Linked DNA regions of Homo sapiens: all the other regions are linked to region 2. Evidence: promoter capture Hi-C in 16 types of primary human blood cells and fetal thymus (Javierre and others, 2016). All regions are on one chromosome and are shown on one strand. Each heading gives the region's core, a stretch centred on a gene start or on the middle of the fragment in contact. The rest is flanking DNA. Distances are from core to core; before and after follow the strand shown. Region 1 has its middle 5.8 kb from the start of C6orf141. Region 2 holds the start of PGK2 (phosphoglycerate kinase 2). Region 3 has its middle 43 kb from the start of C6orf141.

Region 1 (3,481 bases), core at 982-3,481, 230 kb before region 2:
GAGTTAATTTTAAGTGATTTTTTTTTTCCTTTTCTCACTGTTTCAAGCAATGAAAATTTATTTTTAAAGTGCTTACTCAACTTCCCTATTAACTGCCTAGAACATGTTTATAGATTTCATTTAATATAGAGTTCCTTTTCATTGGAAACAAAAAGTAGTAAGTCCAAATACTGTTGAATTTGCTTCACAGGTGTTCCTGATCCAAGCAGAACCCTGTTATTTGAAGAGCCTGAGAAATCTTATCCCGTTTACAAATGTCCTGGGAGTGCATCCAAAGTGAAACTTGGGCATCCTCAATACTAAGAAATCTCTGAGAATGACTGGATCTTGGCTCTTTGATCTTACCTCTACTCCTCTGAAAAACATGATTATCTAAAATTGTGTTAGGTGGATGAACCGCATCAAAGACTTCCAGAAGCCACTCCAGTGACCATAAGATAAATGTCAGAATCGCATAACCCCCAGGATCAGGCAAGTGTTATCCTCTCTTAAAACTCTTTGTTTACAACCATGATCTCCTTTTGGGAATCATTACATTTGACTTACTGCTTATTTTTGTTGGATGTTACCAGTGCTTGGTGATAAAACTTGATGTGGCTCTTTGCTTTGAAAAAGAAAAAAACTTTTTATTAAAAGAAACAGTTGTATACACTGCATAAAAATTGGGAAAATATTATGAAGAAAAAGAAGATATAATAAAGGAAACAAAAATTTACAGATGACCCCAAATCTCTTTTAATATTTGGCAAGTTTCAAGCATGAATTTTTTGTTTTGTTTTGTTTTTGTTTTATAGAGACAGCACCTTGCTATGTTGCCCAGGCTAGTCTTTTTTTTTTTTTGAGACGGAGCCTCGCTCTGTTGCCCAGGCTGGAGTGCAGTGGCGCAATCTTCGCTCACTGCAAGCTCTGCCTCCCGGGTTCATGCCATTCTCCTGCCTCAGCCTCCCGAGCAGCCGGGACTACAGGCGCTCGCCATCACGCCCGGCTAATTTTTTGTATTTTTAGGAGAAATGGGGTTTCACCATGTTAGCCAGGATGGTCTCGATCTCCTGATCTCGTGATCTGTCCACCTCAGCCTCCCAAAGTGCTGTGATTACAGGCGTGAGCCACCGCGCACCTGGCGTGCCCAGGCTAGTATTAAAATCCTGGACTCAAGCAATCCTCCTGCCTTGGCCTCCCAACATGCTGGGCTTATAGGCATCAGCCACCATGCCTGGCCAAGTGTGGTTTTATTTTATTGTATTTTCATGTGAATATACCTACATATATACATACATCTTTCTAAGCATAAACTATATAAAGTAGTATTAATGTAACCTCTGTATATTTTCTGAATATGATCTGTATATAAACAAACATATACTGATGCTACTCAAGATGGGCGTTCTGTGAAACGGCAGCGTGGGCATCTCCAAGAAGGTTTTTAGAAAAGTAGAATCTCAGGCCCCATTCCAGATCTGTTGAATCAGAATTCGCATTTTGTCAAGATCATTGGATGATTCACATTAAAGTTTGAGAAACACTGACATATTCTCATATATTTAGTTCTGTATCCTATTTTGTCACTTACCAAAACTGAAAAGTTTTTTTATTCTGTATTCCCAATTAATTGTTAACAATGCCATGAAGATAATAATTCATAGAGTTTTGAACACAGTTAAAGATTACAGGAAGGTGAAAGATAGAGGATATGAATGGGTAAATTGGCGAAGAGATCTCTATGAAGCTTTATAGTGTCTTTTTTAAAGAGCCTTATTATTTGAAAGTTTGTCCTAATGAACCATTGACTCATCATTGAATTTCAAACTATTTCAGAAATATGGCTATTTTGTTGTCTAGGAATATGAAATAATACATTATAAAAAACTCCTGTAAAGGTGAAAAAGCAGGAAGTCATTAACACATTGCACAATTGCAACTCTGCAGGCTGAGTCAGAACTTGTCAGCCACTTGTGATGAATTGAGAGGGGTGGGGAAAAGGTGGAGCCAGAATTTGAATCAACTGATTCAGATAAGTAAACAAAGGGCTGTGACTCTTGAACACCATGACATCTCTATAACTGCAGTCAGTACTTTGCTCTGTAATTAGGGAGGGCAAATCTGTGAATTTACTTCTCTAGATGAAGATAAAGTCCAGATTACTTTGGAGAGAGTAAGGAGTTATGATTGGTTTTCAGGCATTATGCAGCCAATAGTCACAAACAAAACATTAAGACTTGGTTATCTTCAAAGCAAGGAACTAACCAAATTCAAACTTACATTTCTAACCTTAAAACAGAACAAGAGGCCAAGCACGGTGGCTCACGCCTGTAATCCCAGCACTTTGGGAGGCCAAAGCAGGTGGATCACCTGAGGTCAGGAGTTCAAGACTAGCCTGACCAACATGGAGAAACCCCATCTCTATTAAAAATACAGAATTAGCCGAGGTGATGGTGCATGCCCATAATCCCAGCTACTCAGGAGGCTGAGGCAGGAGAATCACTTGAACCCAGGAGGAGGAGGTTGCAGTGAGCTGAGATCGCGCCATTGCACTCCAGCCTGGGCAACAAGAGCAAAACTCCATCTCAAAATAATAATAATAATTAATAAATAAACAGAACAAGAGTATTTTGAGGAGACTGCAGCCCTCCCCAAAATAGAACAAACAGAGGCTGTGTTTGCAGAGCTTGCTATAATAAGAGAGTCAGCCAACATCATTTGTGCTTGGCAGGAAAGCGAAGGCAGGTAGGGCAATAGGAAAGCTTTGTAGTGGCCAAGATGATCTTACCCATTCCTCAGCTTGACTAAATTTCAGATAAGCTTCTTGACTTAGGTCCCTGACTTTCCTTTTCTTAGAGCATTTACTTTAGAAGACTTTGAATGGTAAATTATTTCTCTGCCCCTTTGAAATGTAAATCTAAGAAAGATCCAGGTATGTCTTTCTTGAGGACCTAGGAGCCATTACTGTGAAGTGTAATCACTGAAAACAAACAAACAAACAAACAAAACTCAGAGGTCTCTAACTATCAGTCTCTGTGGGAGGGTGGAAGCCCAGCTTCTCAAAGTGCCAATCAGCAAACATAGATGGCATAATCACATTGACCAATGTCCCTTTTAACATTGTCTCGTAGTTTTTCTCTAGCTCGCCTTAATGCTTAAAATATTCCCACCTTTTGTTTCAAAGGAATTAAGTTCAATCTCTCTCCCCTAATGCAATAGTTTTTGTTTTTTGTTTGTTTGTTTTTTGAGACAGTCTCACTGTGTTGTCCAGGCTGGAGGGCAGAGGCGCAATCTTGACTTACTGCAACCTCCGCCTCCCGGGTTCAAGTGATTTTCCTGCCTGAGCCTCCTGAGTAGCTGAGACTACAAGTGCATGCCGTTACACTCAAATATGTTTTTTTTTTTTTTTTTTTTTTTTAGTAGAGACGGGTTTTGGGCATGTTGGCCAGGCTGGTCTCAAACTTCTGGCCTCAATGATCCACTTGCCTTGGCCTCCCAAAGT
Region 2 (3,060 bases), core at 556-3,055:
AACTTTAATGGTACCCATGAGTTCTTTATATGTAATTATTTTTCTCAGTTTATTTGGGCATATTTATTGTTTGTTTGTCAACTTTCATTCCACCCTTTCCCAACAAATTAAGTTTTATCTTTTGGGTTTCAAATTATGAAACAATAGCAAAGTTGGACTAAAATAAAAAGATTCAGTTTCTTCAGCTCACTTTCTTTAATAGGCAACTTAAGAATATGTCCTCCCTAGATAGCACAATGGTGAAGTTCAAATGAGAACTTGAACAGGCAAATGCGTGACCAAACTAAAATGAATTGCTGTGCTGATATTAAGAGTTCCTGATGGCCTGCTGCTTGTCCATTACATAGGTCTTGATCTAGGAGTAGATTTTAACAAAAGTCACATCGAGATGTAAAAGCATTAAGCTGACTTAAGGGCCATGGACAGAAAACAGAAGGAAGTAACACTATATTAACTACATGTTGCTGAGGGCCTCTACTCCAGGAAGGATTTTACCTTCCAGAAGCTCTAGACTGGCACCGCCTCCAGTGCTGACATGGCTGACTTTATCTTCAGTGTTCCATTTGGCACAGCAAGTAGCAGTGTCTCCACCCCCTATAACAGTGATGCAGCCCTTGGAAGTGGCTTTCACAATTTCATCCATGAGGGCTTTGGTTCCCTTAGCAAAGGCATCCCATTCAAATACTCCTAACGGCCCATTCCAAACAATTAGCCTTGCTTGAGCCACAACTTGAGCATGATTCTTGTTGCTCTCAGGACCACAGTCCAAACCCATCCAGCCAGGAGATATGCCAGATGCTACAGTGGCTTTTCCAACCTGAGCGTTCTCGTCAAACTTGTCCCCAGTAACAAAATCAACAGGAAAAGTAATCCTTACACCATTCTTTTGTGCTTTGGCCATGATATCTTTAACGATCTTGGCTCCCTCTTCATCAAACAGGGAAGCACCAATCTCCATGTTGTTGAGTACCTTAAGGAAGGTATAAGCCATTCCACCACCAATAATCATCTCATTGACTTTGTCCAGCATATTTTTGATAAGTTGGATCTTGTCTGCCACTTTGGCTCCACCAAGTATAGCCAGAAAGGGTCTCACTGGGTTTTCCAAGGCTTTAGCAAAGTAATCTAGTTCCTTCTTCATCAAGAATCCGGATGCTTTATGGGGCAGATTCACTCCCACCATGGAACTATGAGCGCGGTGTGCAGTGCCAAAAGCATCATTGACATAGACGTCCCCTAGCTTGGAAAGTGATGCTCGGAAGGCTTCTATTTTATCTGGCTCAGCTTTAATCTTCTTTCCAGAGGGATCTTGGCCCTTCCCTTCTTCCTCCACATGAAAGCGCAGGTTCTCCAGCAGGATGACTGAACCAGGAGCTGGGTTGGCACAGGCTTTCTCCACTTCTGCGCCTACACAGTCCTTCAGGAACAGAACATCCTTGCCCAGCAAGGATTTGAGCTCAACAGCAACAGGTGCTAAGGAATATTTGTCAGGCATGGGAACACCATCAGGCCGACCTAGATGACTCATAAGAACTACTGCCTTGGCTCCATTGTCCAGGCAGTACTTGATGCTTGGGATGGAAGCCTTGATCCTCTGGTTGTTTGTAATCTGGTTCTTCTTCATGGGAACATTGAAGTCTACTCTCATGATGACTCGCTTCCCTCTAACATCCAGTTTGTCTAAAGTCAACTTCTTAGAAAGAGACATCTTGACAATATAAAGACATAGGCTGACACCTGGATCTTAATGCTGAAGAACCAACTTGCTGTTGAGGGGCTGGGTCGGTGGTGACTTCTAACGCCTTTGCCCTTGTCCCGCCCCTTTCTTCTCCTCACTGTCTCCAGCACAACGGCCACTGTTAGACTGGAAAGCAAATCTAGCTTTGTGATTGGCTCATGGTCCTGTCAATCTCGATCTGAACTGTGTTGCTAGGTGAAGATTCCAACTTCCTGGGCAGAGGGTCATGTAGTGGAATAGAGCTGTACCTGGCTTCAGGCGAGACTTGGGTAGGTGAAGAAACCCCAGAATAAGAATGGTTCTAAAAAAACAAGAATAGTCCTGAGGTGTGCGCCGCCTTCTGGCTCTTTTTGCCCCCACCCCACAGCTCGGTTAACAGTTGCTTTTATTATTAAAAACAAAACAAAAAGAACTCCACCCCCACCCCCGCAAACCTACATACACCTCATTCATGTCAAATCTTAACCATTTTGATATGTAAAAACCTCTGCAGTGCCAAATAAAAGGAATATTTGAAATAATGATTTTCATATGAAACCTTGCTTATTCAAGTCAGGATAGTATAGTTCTGTTTTTTCCTTGTCTTGATAAATATTTCTTTGAGGATGTGGCTTGTTGTTAGTCTTCATCTTTAGATCTATTCTGGGACGTGGTGGGAATGCTGTCATATTTTCATTACTTTGCTTCTTCCATTTTCAGACTACCATGAAAGAATGTTTGGTCACTTCTGCAGGAGAATCCCATAAGATCATAGCAAAGAGAGTATCAGTAACAAGTGCTGAAAGTAATGGTGACATTTCTTTCAGACTACAATGTTATGATGAGGCTCCTTATTTTTTGTCTCCTCTCTGTTTGCTTTCCTACCTGTACAACTTAGAAATTGAGCTGAAAAATAAATGCATGGTTTTCATGAAGATGAAAACATATATTAGAATTGAAAGTGAGTAAGATATTCTATTTTTGGAGAAAGCAAATGTATGTGGCTAGTTGGTTTAGTAATGAAAATTGGCTTTACAGTTTTTTTCATTCTACTCCATAAGTTGAGTGAACTAAATATGTAAAATGAAGGCTTTGACAGAAATATATTTGAGGCATCTCCTATTAAGATGGCTAAAATAAAAAATAAAAACAAGTGTTGAGAAAGAAGTGGACAAATTGGAATCCTCATTTATTGCTGATAGGAATGTCTAATGGTGCAGCCACTTTAAAAAACAGTTTATCGGTTCCTCAATGTTGAACATCGAGTCAACAGCATTTAAAAGCAAACTTAAATGGTGTTAAAATATATAGTAACAGAAACTCTCATTTGTTGCTCCCAGGAA
Region 3 (3,089 bases), core at 354-2,853, 190 kb before region 2:
AACCACCAGTTTATGGAGCAATACTTTTTAGTCATTTTATGCCCCATTTTGTGTATATTCCACTGGAATTTTGGAAGAAAGATGGCTAGGAATTTGTCCCCAGCTCACTCCTTCAAGAAGAGTAAAAGACTCTTCCAAAGTAAAATAGAGCTAATTCCATAATGCAAGTCCAGGAAATAGAATTCTCCCAGAGTGATAGTTCACTACTCTTTATTCCTCTGCCCCAAATGGCAACTCTCTTTCTTGCTCTTCCTCTCTCATTTTTTCTTTTAATGAACAATTCGGTTACATAGCCATTGAGTTGGGTAGAACTAGGTAGGTGTCCACACCTGGTGATGAGGGGATGTGATGTTTGAGATCACGACATGTTGGAGCCTGAGCAGTGTGAGGAGTGTGTGCATGTAAAAGGGCTGCTCCCTGGGGAGAATAAGAGCCAAGAGGCGTGAGAAGGGTGACCACAGGGAAGAGTGGTCTGGTGTGCATTGTCATAGCCTTGTGCAGGGTGAAGTGGCATACACACAGGGGAAACCCTGGTTATGGAGCCTGATTGTGGGTGGTGTGGAAGCCATCTGCATGGAGAATGGGGCAACAGTAGCGATAAGAGATTGGCTACATACAGGAGCTTGATCAATTAAGTAATTATAGTAAGGATGATAGGAATCTGATTTGTTGCTGTTGGAGAAAGGAGCTCCAAATACAGAAAATGAGAAAACCAGAATGAATCTTTGAGTGTTGGGTTAGAATTAGACATCTTGTGCAAAATTATAGGTTTTGTTTTTTGGTTTTTTTTTTTTTTTTTTTGAGACAAAGTCTTGCTCTGTCATCTGGCCAGTTGTACAGTGGCATGAACATGGCTCACTGCAACCTCAAACTCTCAGAATCCAGAGATCCTCCCACTTCAGCCTCCTGAGCAGCTGGGACCACAGGCACACCCCACCATGCTTGGCTAATTCATTTATTTTTGTAGAGATGGGGTCTTGTCATGTTGCCCAGGCTGAGCTCAAGCAATCCTCCTGTCTTGGCCTCCCAAAGTATTAGGATTACAGGTGTGAGCCACCATACAGGGCAACAAACCTATGATTTTGGATAGAATCAGTTCTTTTATAACATGACATGCTGATTACTTAAAATTGTTGTGCCATGCAGAATTATACAATAAAACCCACAGGGCTTATGATAAAATAATATTGGAGCACAAAACTCAAATACTTCATTATTGACACACACACAAAAGATTGAAACTTAAAAATGATAGTACAGTTTACACATGTGAAGTGGGTAAGAAGTACATAAATATTATACTAAATATGTCATTTTACCTTGAAAAGGACCTGAAGTTTGATTGTGGAAGTGGGGAACAGAAGAATTGCAACTTATGCAATGGTGGAAGAGGTTTACTTTAAATCAGACAGAAAGCTGTGACATTAGATGAGATGGGTATAGCTCATAGCACATGAGATGAACTGAGGTAATGTAGAGATTTGTGCATGTGTGTATGTGCATATTTTGTGTCCAGGCTTGGTTCAGCTGGATGCAGTTTTCTGTTTTCATCTTGTGTTTCTTGTAAACAAAATAATGCATAAGCAAACACAAAATATATGCTATGCTTAATTTGTTCCTTAATATGTCAATTGTACTGAAACAGATTCACATTTTCCAAACAAGCATTATAGCAGAACTCATTGAATATTAAAATATATAGATAGATATAGAAATAATTGTAGATGCACATATATGCCTTCAGAGACATTTATATTCCCTATCTCTCCAACTGAGAGGGCTGGAGAAAGGCAGCATCCCAATAGCAATGAGCACACATAGCTTGCAGATCTCAGACTATAAATACAACTAAAAGAAATCAGAGGCCAGGTGCGGTGGCTCATGGCTGTAATCCCAGCACTTTGGGAGGCTGAGGCAGGTGGATCATCTGAGGTCAGGAGTTCGAGACCAGCCTGACTAACATGGTGAAATCCTGTCTCTACTAAATACAAAAAATTAGCCAGGCTTGGTGGCGGGTGCCTGTAATCGCAAGTACTCGGCAGGCTGAGACAGGAGAATCGCTTGAACCCGGGAGGTAGAGGTTGCAGTGAGCCGAGATTGCACCATTGCATTCCAGCCTGGGCAACAAGAGCAAAATTTTGTCTCAAAAACAAACAAACAACAAACAAACAAACAAACAAAACAAAAACAAAGAAATTAGGAATTGAGAAAACAGCTAGAACAGGAAAAGGATAAGATGAGCACATCTCAGAAAGACATAGGAACCAGCATGAATAGACTTGCACTGGCAAATCTGGGACAATTTCACCGTCACAACAAATGTTTTTATAATGTATTGTAAATAATTTAATAAAATAAAAAAATCATGAATCTATAGGGATATAAGTTAATAAATGAATGCATTGAAAGATTAAGGAGGAATGGGACATTGACATAGGGATGTGGAAGATTTCATATTGCTTTCACACAAAATAAAATGAATTATAAAGATAAAAACAAGAAACTTTAAAGCAGAGAAACACGCTCTCCATCAATGATTGAAGTGAATAATCATTAATAATGGAACAAGTTCAAAAAGAATTCCACCTGGTAGGATGCAATTCAGTATATAGGCTCACTTTTGTGATATTGCTCTTAAAGTTGTATAACCTAAATCTAATCATGGGGAAACATCAGCAAAACCCAGAGTGGGGACCTTCTATGAAATAACTGCCTACATTCTTCAAAAGTGTCAAGGTCATGAAAGTCAGAGAAACACCAAGGAACTGTTCCAGACTGAAGGACTAAAGAGGCAAGAAACTAGGTATAAAGTGGAATCCTGAACTAGATCATTTTGCTATAATGGAAATCATGAAAACATTTGGCAAAACTTGAATGGGATATCAGGATCCGATGGTTGTTATAGACTGAATTGTGTGTCCCTCCCCATCCTCAAAATAACTCTGCAGAGTAGGTATTATCTCTTTTTATAACTGAATAAAGAGGCTCAGAGAGAAAGTATTTTGTCTAAAGATACTTAAATAGTAAAAGATTAAGAAGGGATTAAATTCAAGGCCAAAAGAAGGGAGAATGACTTTGTTCAAAAGAAG

The links. The method cuts DNA at HindIII sites, captures the fragments that hold promoters and counts their contacts. A CHiCAGO score of 5 or more calls a contact.
Region 1: a contact is called between a fragment that was not itself captured here and the fragment with the promoter of PGK2 in region 2, in 1 of 17 cell types (megakaryocytes). The highest score is 5.5, in megakaryocytes.
Region 3: a fragment that was not itself captured here is called in contact with the fragment with the promoter of PGK2 in region 2 in 1 of 17 cell types (erythroblasts); the score reaches 5.6 in erythroblasts.

The regions. Positions count from the first base shown.
Region 1 is chr6:49,554,687-49,558,167 of GRCh38, forward strand. It overlaps a transcript of C6orf141 not described here. Among named protein-coding and RNA genes, the nearest start is that of C6orf141, 5.8 kb to the left of the region's middle. The HindIII fragment of the contact is 1,015 bases long and covers 1,725-2,739 here.
Region 2 is chr6:49,785,480-49,788,539 of GRCh38, forward strand. PGK2 (phosphoglycerate kinase 2) reads right to left here and starts at 1,806. Exons shown (of 1, transcript NM_138733.5): 1 at 181-1,806. The coding sequence starts at 1,708. The coding sequence ends at 455. The HindIII fragment of the contact is 4,736 bases long and covers 1-3,060 here.
Region 3 is chr6:49,591,797-49,594,885 of GRCh38, forward strand. No RefSeq gene overlaps it. Among named protein-coding and RNA genes, the nearest start is that of C6orf141, 43 kb to the left of the region's middle. The HindIII fragment of the contact is 6,483 bases long and covers 1-3,089 here.